2 separate regions of the Homo sapiens genome follow, and region 1 is linked to region 2. The links are contacts of gene promoters, found by promoter capture Hi-C in blood cells and fetal thymus (Javierre and others, 2016). All regions are on one chromosome and are shown on one strand. Each heading gives the region's core, a stretch centred on a gene start or on the middle of the fragment in contact. The rest is flanking DNA. Distances are from core to core; before and after follow the strand shown. Region 1 overlaps PEPD (peptidase D). Region 2 holds the start of LRP3 (LDL receptor related protein 3).

Region 1 (4,648 bases), core at 1,002-3,501, 210 kb before region 2:
CGGGCAAGAGCAGCAGGCCCGGTGTCCTCACCGAGCTGGGCAGGCCAGGCCCTGATGCCCACTTCCAGCAGCTGGTTCTGCAGCACAGGCTGGAGGTGGGAGCCACAGGCAGAGCTCAGGCCAGGCCTGGTTTATTCTCAGACAGCTCCCGTCCCCTGGTTGTCCTGTTCCGTGTCTTCGACCCAAAAGTGTCCTCCATGATGCGTACATCAAGCGGGGTTTGGGGCTGGCTAGGCCCCCCTCCTACTGCTCCGTCCTTACCCTTCCAGCAGCTTCCCTGGAGCTAGGCTGAGTCCACTGTTGGCCACAGTCATGGTCCAAGAGGGCCTATGAACCAGACACCCTGGTTCCTGCTTCAGGTCAGGCTTGTCAGCCAAGGACTGAGACAGACTTCCTGAGGGCCGTCCCTCACCCCCAGCCAGCCACCCCCGGGCCCCTTCCCGCTTCTCTGGGTGTGATGCCACCACACCCACTCGCATGCACGCAGGGGTGAGGGACGGGACTTTGTGGTGGCTGCATACACCCTCAGCCTGGTTCAGAGCCAAGCGGCCCCATGTGGGGCCTGTAGCCGTCAAGCCTCCGGGGGTTTTGCTGTTGTTCTCAGAGTCTTTTCCCGCTGTGATCCTGGGGTTCGCCATGAACCCCATCTCCAAGTCACTGTACCAGAGGGGCCATTCGCTGCTTTTTTTGTTTTCCTTTTTAAACCCCTCAGGCAGACCTTCAAGAACAGGGTTACAAAAGCGCAGCACACTTGCTAATTAACACTTTCAACATGTTCACACAGATTGAGGTGCCTGAGATCACTGGAGGCCATTCCTAAGTGGGAGGCCCCAGAAGACCCCTCCCCACTCACTCCAGCCCCGAACAGGTTTGTGTGAGCACAGAGGTGGCCAGGACTCATCCCCCTGCTTCTCCTGGTCGTCTTCTGAGCCCCCATGTGCTGCCCCCTCCTTCCACAAACAGCCTGGGCTGTGGGCACCAGAGCCACTGCAGGCCAGCAAGCTTCGCAGCTAGGGCAGGGGGCGCATGGTCCACGATTCTGGGAAGCAGTGCGCCCAGAGAGGGACCATCCCTTGCAGCACTCCGGGCCTGAGGCCGCCCCAGGTCCTGGAGAGGCTCACCCCACAGGGCAGAGGTGGAGGGCTCTGGTTGGGAAAGCAGCTGGGACACTCCTCCTGCCTCCCTCACTTCCCGATCAGGTGGTGGGGGTTGGAGGGGGGCCTTAATCTACTGTGGCCCCTCGCAGAGTTTCTAGAGCACGTGTCCCAGGATGCCCCAGGCCTTGGTTGTCCCAGTCGGGATGCAGCTGGTGGGCAGCAAGCCTGTCCTTCCAGAACTGGCCAGAAGAGGGCAGTGTTGTCTCAGGACGATGGGCCAGGCCTCACCCCTGCTGGGCCTGGTCTTTTGTGTTGCTCCTGGGCATGGGGGGTGGGTGGCCAGCCTGGCTAGGAGGAGAGACCTGTCCCAGCCCTCACACTCAGCAGCCACCAGTGCCCTCTTCCCCTCCTTCCCTGGCTAGATAATGGCGAGACCTCGACCCTGCAGGCCATGGGGTGCCCGCTCACCCAGGACCTCAGCAGCCACCTTGGCCTCACATGGGCCCTGCAGCCTGGGATGCGGCCAGCCTACTCCTGCTGTCTACTCAGCCTGAGTCTGTCTGCCACCATCGCGCTGCGGACCCCATGGGTGACAAGCTCCTGGGGACCCCCTTGCCCCACTCCACCTGGGGCCCAATGCTTTGGTGAGCTCCAGGGTAGAGCGTTGCCCCCAGGCCTGCTCTCTGCTGCCTGTCCCAGCCCAGCTCTCCCCCACCACCTTGCTGTTTCCTCCGAGGGAGACTTGTTGTCACCAGCCAGCCCTGCCCTGAGCACTCTGCGGTCTTAAAGACATGCTCTTGGGGCCACAGAACGCCCTCAGGAGGGTCCAGACCCACAGGCATGGCCGTCCCATCCCATCCCAGTTAGGAGCGTGCTCTCCATTCTCACCCGTCCTCATACACATGGACAGGCCTGGTTATGAGCAGACACCTGCCCACGCGTTTTCGGTTTGTCTCTTGTTTGTGCTTCGTGGCTGCACCCTCCTCAGCTGATGTCATGACCCACAGTTTGAACAGCACTTGTCCAGACATCCTGGGTGCTCCCAGACATCATGAGACACTGGTCACCAAAAAAAGCAAAATACAGCATGTGCTGCGCGTGTGACTCTCCCTCCCGCCTGCCAAGGCCACTGCCCTGACGCCCGGGCCTCACCCCACTGTGCTTTCCTGGCAGCTGTCCTTGTGTCTCACCCACCTCTGGACGAGGCACCCCACAGTGCTCTTCTGGGACCCGGGGCCCCTCACTGGTGCCGTGCCTCTGTCCATGTCATGCATAAAATGGCAATGCCAGTTCCCTCCAGACACCCAGGAGGCCCACAGGACGCAGCTGCTCCCGTCACCCACCGCGTGCACCAGGGATTGCTGGCTCTGGGGACCAGAAGCTGCTGCTGTCATGGGCTGGCGGCATGGGCAGCTTTCCTGTCTGCCGAGGCCCTGGAGGAGTGGCCGTCACACGAAAAGGGGGCAGAGATGCCCAGGAACGCACTGGAGAGAGGTCCCCTTGGTGGGTTAGGCCATGGCACGGGGAGCCTCAGGGACTCCGAGTGGTGGCCTTTGTCCCTGCTGGCCACGCTTGGAGCTTGGCACTCCACGGAAGGCCTGGCTGGGAGCAGGCAGCCGGCCCATGCACCCTGGAGACCACAGCTCGCCACCGTGTCTGCAGGGGCCGCCCACTGGGGCAGATGAAGGGAAGAGTGACCCATACGCCTCCCTTTCGGTCTCACACTGAGGAGAAGCAAGTGCTTCCTGCTGCTCAGCAATCCCCCAGCCTGGCCTGGGACACTGACCAGGGCAGCTGCACATCGGAGTCTGCAGTGCTTCTGCAGCCCCGAATATGAGCGCGTGTAAACTGTTGGATTGAACAGCTAAGAGCCGTGCCACTACTCAGGAGATTCAAATGAAACTGCAAACCAAGTCCAAAGTGGCTCTCATATAAACATTGCAGCATTTCCCCCAGAAAACTGTTCCCAAGCCTTCCGTCACTGGCCGACCCATCTTGGAGGCCTTCTGCCTCTGGGCTGGCGGGTCCCTGCCATGGGGCCCAGGGAGGGTCTGGGTGGGCCAGTGGTGGCAGGTAGCCCAGGCCCAAAGCTACCCAGAAGGAGCCAGAAACAGAGCCCTCAGAACACATGTGGGGAGTGAGACGCCAGCACGTTGTTTGGAGATGCATCCTGTCTCCCAGATGTCTTGTATTATCATCGACTCACTCGGCCAAAGATGGTAGGGTCCCCAGACAGCCAGGAAGGAGGGATCCTGCGTGCCTGTTCTCGATTGAGCCAACGTATGACCGAATTCTCCATTGTCGGTTTGCATTCAGAGGATGGATGAAGTGGACGCAGAGGAGCGGGAGGGAGATGATTTATCAAAGCCATGGCTTTCGTCCCTGGATTCCAGAAAAGCTTGCATCTGAATAACTTATGTGTGTAGAAACTCTAGGGGGATTTTTTTAAGGCAGAAAAAGATAGGGAACTGAGAGGAGCACGAAAATAGACTTCAGCTCCATACCCGAGCCTCGCTGGGCAGGATGGAGCTGGCTGGCTGGGTGTATACTTCCCCCTCCAGAAAGCAGATCATTTTCAAACAAGAAATGCAGTTACAGTCTTCTACAAGCTGGAAGATAAAGTCAGGCTGGCGGATGATATCCAGGCACCCACCATCCCATGGTCTTTCTGCTTTGCTGGCGGGAGTTTGGGGAACTGGGATCTGAGTCTGGTCTGCACTGGAGAACAGTCTTGTTTTTACATTCCTAGATGATTTCATTGTTCGGGGTATTCTTGTGGGCTTCCTGGTTGTTGTTGTTGTTGTTGTTTTTTAAACGATAGTTCAGTTTCTGCTTTTTCTTTTGTGTCAGCACAGTCCGGTAGGACTTTCTGCCCCGGCTGCTGTTGCAGGTCACCTTCTGATTTGGCGCCTCCTAGGAATCCGTGTCCCCCATACTCCTGGCCCTGTCCTCTCTGCCCAGGCTATTCTTGCATGTTCTAAAACCAACAAACCACAAACCATTTTTCTTGGTTGACTCTGGGGAACCTAAATGAAAATGCTTAGCTGTCCCCAGGCAAAACTGGGCTGTGTTCCATATGGCTCCACTCCCCAGAGCTACAGCAGTGGGAGGGTCCCATTTTACAGATGGAAAAACTGAGGCCGTGAAGGTTGAGCACTGCCGCCAGGACCTAAGAACCCATTGCTGGGCTTCGAGTTGTTTACCCTCCTGACTCAGGGCTTTCCTGGACCCGTGATCTGAGCCTCAGTTTCCCTTCAGTTTAGAGCTTCCATGTGCCCCGCCTTCCCGGCCAGCCGTGGGGAAGCCTAGGCCCTGTGCAGGAGTAGACTTCCAGGCAGTTGTTGGCCTAAGCAGCCCACTGCATCCAGAGATCCTGTGACTCTGACCCACCCCAAAGCTCCCTGTCATGCAGGCGGGGCTCCTCCCCCCAGCCTGAGAGTCACCTGAGGTGTTATCTGGACCTTTCTGCCCTGTTGACACTGCTTATGGTGTTTTGCAATCAGAAAAGACAGGAGATTAAAAAGTGCCCGGCTGGGGACTTTGGATTTCAG
Region 2 (4,299 bases), core at 1,407-3,906:
GACCTTGTTATTTCACCCACTTTACAGATGAGGAAACTGAGGCTCAGACAAGTTGAAGCCTGTCCAAAGCCAAACAGCTCCTTTGTGATGTAGAAAAGATGCACACAGGAACTCGGGGTAGTGCCAGGACCCTGAAGGCCTGTCTTCAGGGACCACTCACCCAAAAGGGACTGAAGGAGTGGAGGAAGGAGAGAAAGTGCTTACTTACCTAAGGCAGGAACCGCACTGCTGAGTCTCCCGGTGAGAAAGATGTTCACTGTGGGAGATACAAAGAAAGGGTCAGGGGTCCCACATACCTGCTGGGGACCAGCAGCAGCCCATGAGGGACACCACAGCTAAACCCAAGGCTGGCCCGCTGGTCCCCTTCCTCTTACAGGGCAAGGCCCAGAGCGCAGCCCAAGACTGCCCATCAAGAGGGTCCCTACCACCTCACCCCCACCTCCCTGCCTCCATGTTCTGTTATCCAGGCTGGAGTGCATAGCTCACTGCAGCTTCAAACTCCCGAGCTCAAGCAATCCTCCCACCTGAGCCTCCCAAGTAGCTGGAACTACAGGTGTGCACCACTATGCCTGGTTATTTTTTTATTTTTTATTTTTGTAGAGATGAGGTCTCACTGTGTTGCTCAGGCTGGTCTTAAACTCCTGGCCTCCAGCAATTCTCTTGCCTTGGTCTCCCAAAGTGCTGGGATTACAGGCACCTGCCACCGCACCCTGGCCTGCTCCTACAACTTTGAAGGGCTTCCCCCTACCAAGGGGCTTTGCTCGCCCAGCAGCAGCAGAGGCAGGAGGGGAGGCAGTTCTGATAATCCCCATTTACAGGGCACGCAGCTAGTGACGGAACCATCCTCTTCCCCCGTGCCAAGCTGACTTTGAGGAGGAAAGCAGAACTCCCCAGCCACCCCTCAAGCACCCACCTCCGTGGGGTTTGGCCCTTACTTTCACCTTCTGCTCTGGCCCGGGGGGTTACGGGCCCAGAGTCGGGGGGTGGGGGGAAACCCAACTTCCCGGGGTTCAGGATGTGTGTCAGATCCCGCCTGGCCAGGAAGCAGGAACCGCTGCCCCCACCCAGGACACCCAGGCCCCCTGGACAGAGCCAGGCCAAAGCTCCTAAGCATGGAGCGCCTGTCCCCCTGCTCTGCTCACCAGGGATGCCAGCACCCAGCAGCTCAGAGCCCAGCACACATGACCCCGCACTGAGGTTGGGGTGGGCGCGCTGGGGTTACACCCTCAATGCTCCCCAATGGCACATTCCCACTGAGCCAGGCTCACACAGCTGGGGCAAGGGCCTGCCAGAGCCTCGGAGCTCCCTGAGGCCTGGGGGTGATTACTTTGTCATTTCAGTGGCTTCAGCAAACCTGTCAGGTTACAGAGCCCTCACTGGTGACATCACAGGGTGTCCCCTAATGACCCCCAGTTCTTATAATGGCCTCCCTCCTTCATCACAGTAAATAAAGGAGCCATGTGGGTTGGGGATTTAACTCCTCCTCTCGCCTACACAGAGCGCTGGAAAGCTGGACAGAAAAACTCCCGGACAGGGCGGGAGCCCCTCCCACCCCATGCCTGGCCTTGACCGGTCCCTGGCCCAACCCAAGCACCCTCCTAAACTGAACAGGCCTGCCTGGGGGCTGAGAGACACAAAGGGAAAACAGGAGTCCCCTGGAAGCCGCCTCCACACTGGCACCCTCCTCCAGCCCTGCCCCGCACCCCGAGTCCCCATCTGCGGCTTACACCAGCCCCCACCCCAACTCCGGGCCGGAAACAGTTTCTTCTTCAGGGGACAGCCGGCCTGGCCTTTGTCCCCAGCTCCCGGGGCCCCCTCGTCTCCAGGCTCAGCGCGGGCGGGCCGGGTTGAAGGCTGCCGCCTGCACGAAGGGCCTCCTGCCAGCGCTCAGCCCGGGCTCCGGGCGCTACTCCGAGCGGGGCGGGAGCCGGGGCTGCGCCACCAGAGTCGCCCTCCCAGGCCCGGGGCCAGGCGGGCAAGCGGTGCTGGCCCCTCTCTGGGTCTCCGCGCGGGAGCCACCGCGGTGGGGGGCTCGGGATGCCGCGGCCGGAGAGGAGGTCGGTCAGGGCGCGGCGCGGACTGCCATGCGGGGGACCCGGACCTGCCCGGCCCGCGCGGCCCACTCACCCAGACAGACGACGGCCAGCTGCGCCCGGGCGCCCGGCGCGCCCTCCAGCCCCGCGGCCGCGCGCTTCTCCATGCCGGGCCCGGCCGCCCGCGGGCGCCGCCTCCTGCCCCGCGGCTCCGGCTCCGGTTCCGGCTGCGGCTCCGGCTCTGGCTCTGGCTGCGGCTCGGGCTCGGGCTCGGGCTAGGGCTCGGGCTCCGGCTGGCGTGGCTGCTGCGGCCCGGGTGCAGGCGGCGGCTCCCGAGGCGTCTTTGTGCGGTGGCGGTGCAGGCCCGTAGGGCGCGCGCGGCCACATCGGCCGCGGCGTCACGGGCCCTGCGGGGGCTCAGCGGCGGCCGCCAGGGAAGACCCCCGCCCGCCGCTGCCCCCGCGCCCCGGGAGCCCCGCCGCGGCCGGCCTGGGCCCGGGGACCCCCGGCGCGCCCATGCCCCGCGGCGCGCAGCCCGCCCGGCCCCGGCGTCCCCGGGCCGCCCCGCGCTGCGCCCAGCCCGCCCGGCCGGGTGCCGCCGGTAGAGCGTCCGTGGGTCTGTCAGTCCTCCCGCCCGGCCCCTCGCCCGCGCCCGGAGCCTGGAGGCCGCGCTGCGCCAGCCACGTGACGCGCCCGCCGAGCCGCAGTGGCGCTGGCTGGGCGGGCGGAGGCGGCTGGGGCGGGCCGGGGGCGCACGCCCCGCCTCGGGGTGCTGGACAGCTCTGCGCACCAGCCCCGCCCCGCCCGCGCCCCCCGCCGCGCTCCCCGCGCTCCAGCCCAGTGCTCCAGGCAGCCGGTGCTCGCCTGGCCTCCTCCCGGGCCCACGAATTGATCCCTCCTGGAGCCGGCTGTGCTGAGGAGGACCGGGGAGCGAGGACTGGGAAAAGGTGGGAGAGAGAGGACGGCTTAGGGACCTCATAGGGGTGGCACAAGGCTAAGGCCTGTCTTCTTCGCAAGGTGTCCCTGTTCCTGCCCCTCCGCTTCTTTCATTTGCCACAGTCCAAGTGCCCTGTCACGTCTCTAAGAGGAACCCCCTGTGCCAAGCAAGACCTGTCAGGGGACATTGGTGAACACACCAGAGGCCTCTGGAGATCTCCCAGGGCCCCCTGAGCCCACCCTGTTACCCACTATCCTCGTGAGGCTGGGGACTTGGGAGGAGGCCTGCTTCTTAGGCTGGGGGTGCCCTCTGGAGAGCTGCCCACCAAGAGGTTGAGTCCAATGAGGCAAGAACCAGGAGAGACAGGGGGAAGGTTTGAGAAGGCCATTTAGGGCCAAGACGGATGTGAAATCAGAGGTCCCCAAAGGCTCCATGGCACAGCGGGCCCACCAACCTGAGCTGAGGCTCCCAACCCTTTTCTAACACCCCCAGACCCTCATTTGATATTCTCCGTTTATGGAGAGAAGGTTGAGAGAAACTGATGGTCCGTTAGTGAAAGCGTAGACAGTCACTCACTCACTCGCACTGTGCAGGTTGATTGGATTTTAATAAAAAATGGGGGGAAGAAAAATCCTTTTAGTTTTTCTGGGTTTTCTTATTCTCTCTCTTCTAATTCCTTTGGTGATTTTTCCAAAGCAGACTTCTTAGGAAATGTATTAAAGGACGTAAAAATCAAATAACAAGATACATTACAGATTGATGGCATAGAGCACTAGCCTATGTGTAATTTGGTTTCAGAATTTCCTCAGACTGCTGACTGCGGATGAGCAGGCATTTATTTACGCATGGCAAAAATGCTCAACAGAGGCAGGGGCAATGGTAGGGTGGATCTGCGGTTTGTTCGTTTGTTGTTGTTGTTGTTGTTGTTGCTGCTGCTGCTGCTGCTTCTTAGTTTTTTTAGAGACAGTCTCACTTTTTCACCCAGGCTAGAGTGCAGAGCTGCAACCATAGCTCACTGTACCCTCAAACTCCTGGGCTCAAGCAATCCTCCCACCTCAGCCTCCCAAGTAGGTGGGATGACAGGTGTGCACCACCATGTCAGGCTAATTTTTTCATTTTTTTGTAGAGACAAGGTCTTGCTCTGTTGCCCAGGCTGGAGTGCAGTGGTGTGATCACGGCTCACTGCAACCTCAAACTCCTGGACTCAAGGGATCCTCTTGCCTCAGCCTCCCAAAGTGCTGGAGTTACAGACAGGACCCACCACACCTGGCCAAAATATGCGGTTTTGTTGAAGATGCTGCCTGCTTCAATGCATGTTTTGCACGTTAT

What was found. The method cuts DNA at HindIII sites, captures the fragments that hold promoters and counts their contacts. A CHiCAGO score of 5 or more calls a contact.
Region 1: a contact is called between a fragment that was not itself captured here and the fragment with the promoter of LRP3 in region 2, in 5 of 17 cell types (M0 macrophages, monocytes, megakaryocytes and 2 more). The highest score is 7.3, in M0 macrophages.

What each region holds. Positions count from the first base shown.
Region 1 is chr19:33,403,715-33,408,362 of GRCh38, reverse strand. The region is part of intron 11 of PEPD (peptidase D); the gene reads left to right. It overlaps LOC124904692 (a long non-coding RNA gene), which reads right to left. Exons shown (of 2, transcript XR_007067229.1): 2 at 1-4,074. Among named protein-coding and RNA genes, the nearest start is that of CEBPG, 32 kb to the right of the region's middle. RefSeq lists an enhancer at 1,106-1,663. The HindIII fragment of the contact is 2,493 bases long and covers 1,005-3,497 here.
Region 2 is chr19:33,192,687-33,196,985 of GRCh38, reverse strand. It overlaps LRP3 (LDL receptor related protein 3), which reads right to left and starts at 2,656. Exons shown (of 7, transcript NM_002333.4): 1 at 2,128-2,656; 2 at 209-256. The coding sequence starts at 2,200. The HindIII fragment of the contact is 39,491 bases long and covers 1-4,299 here.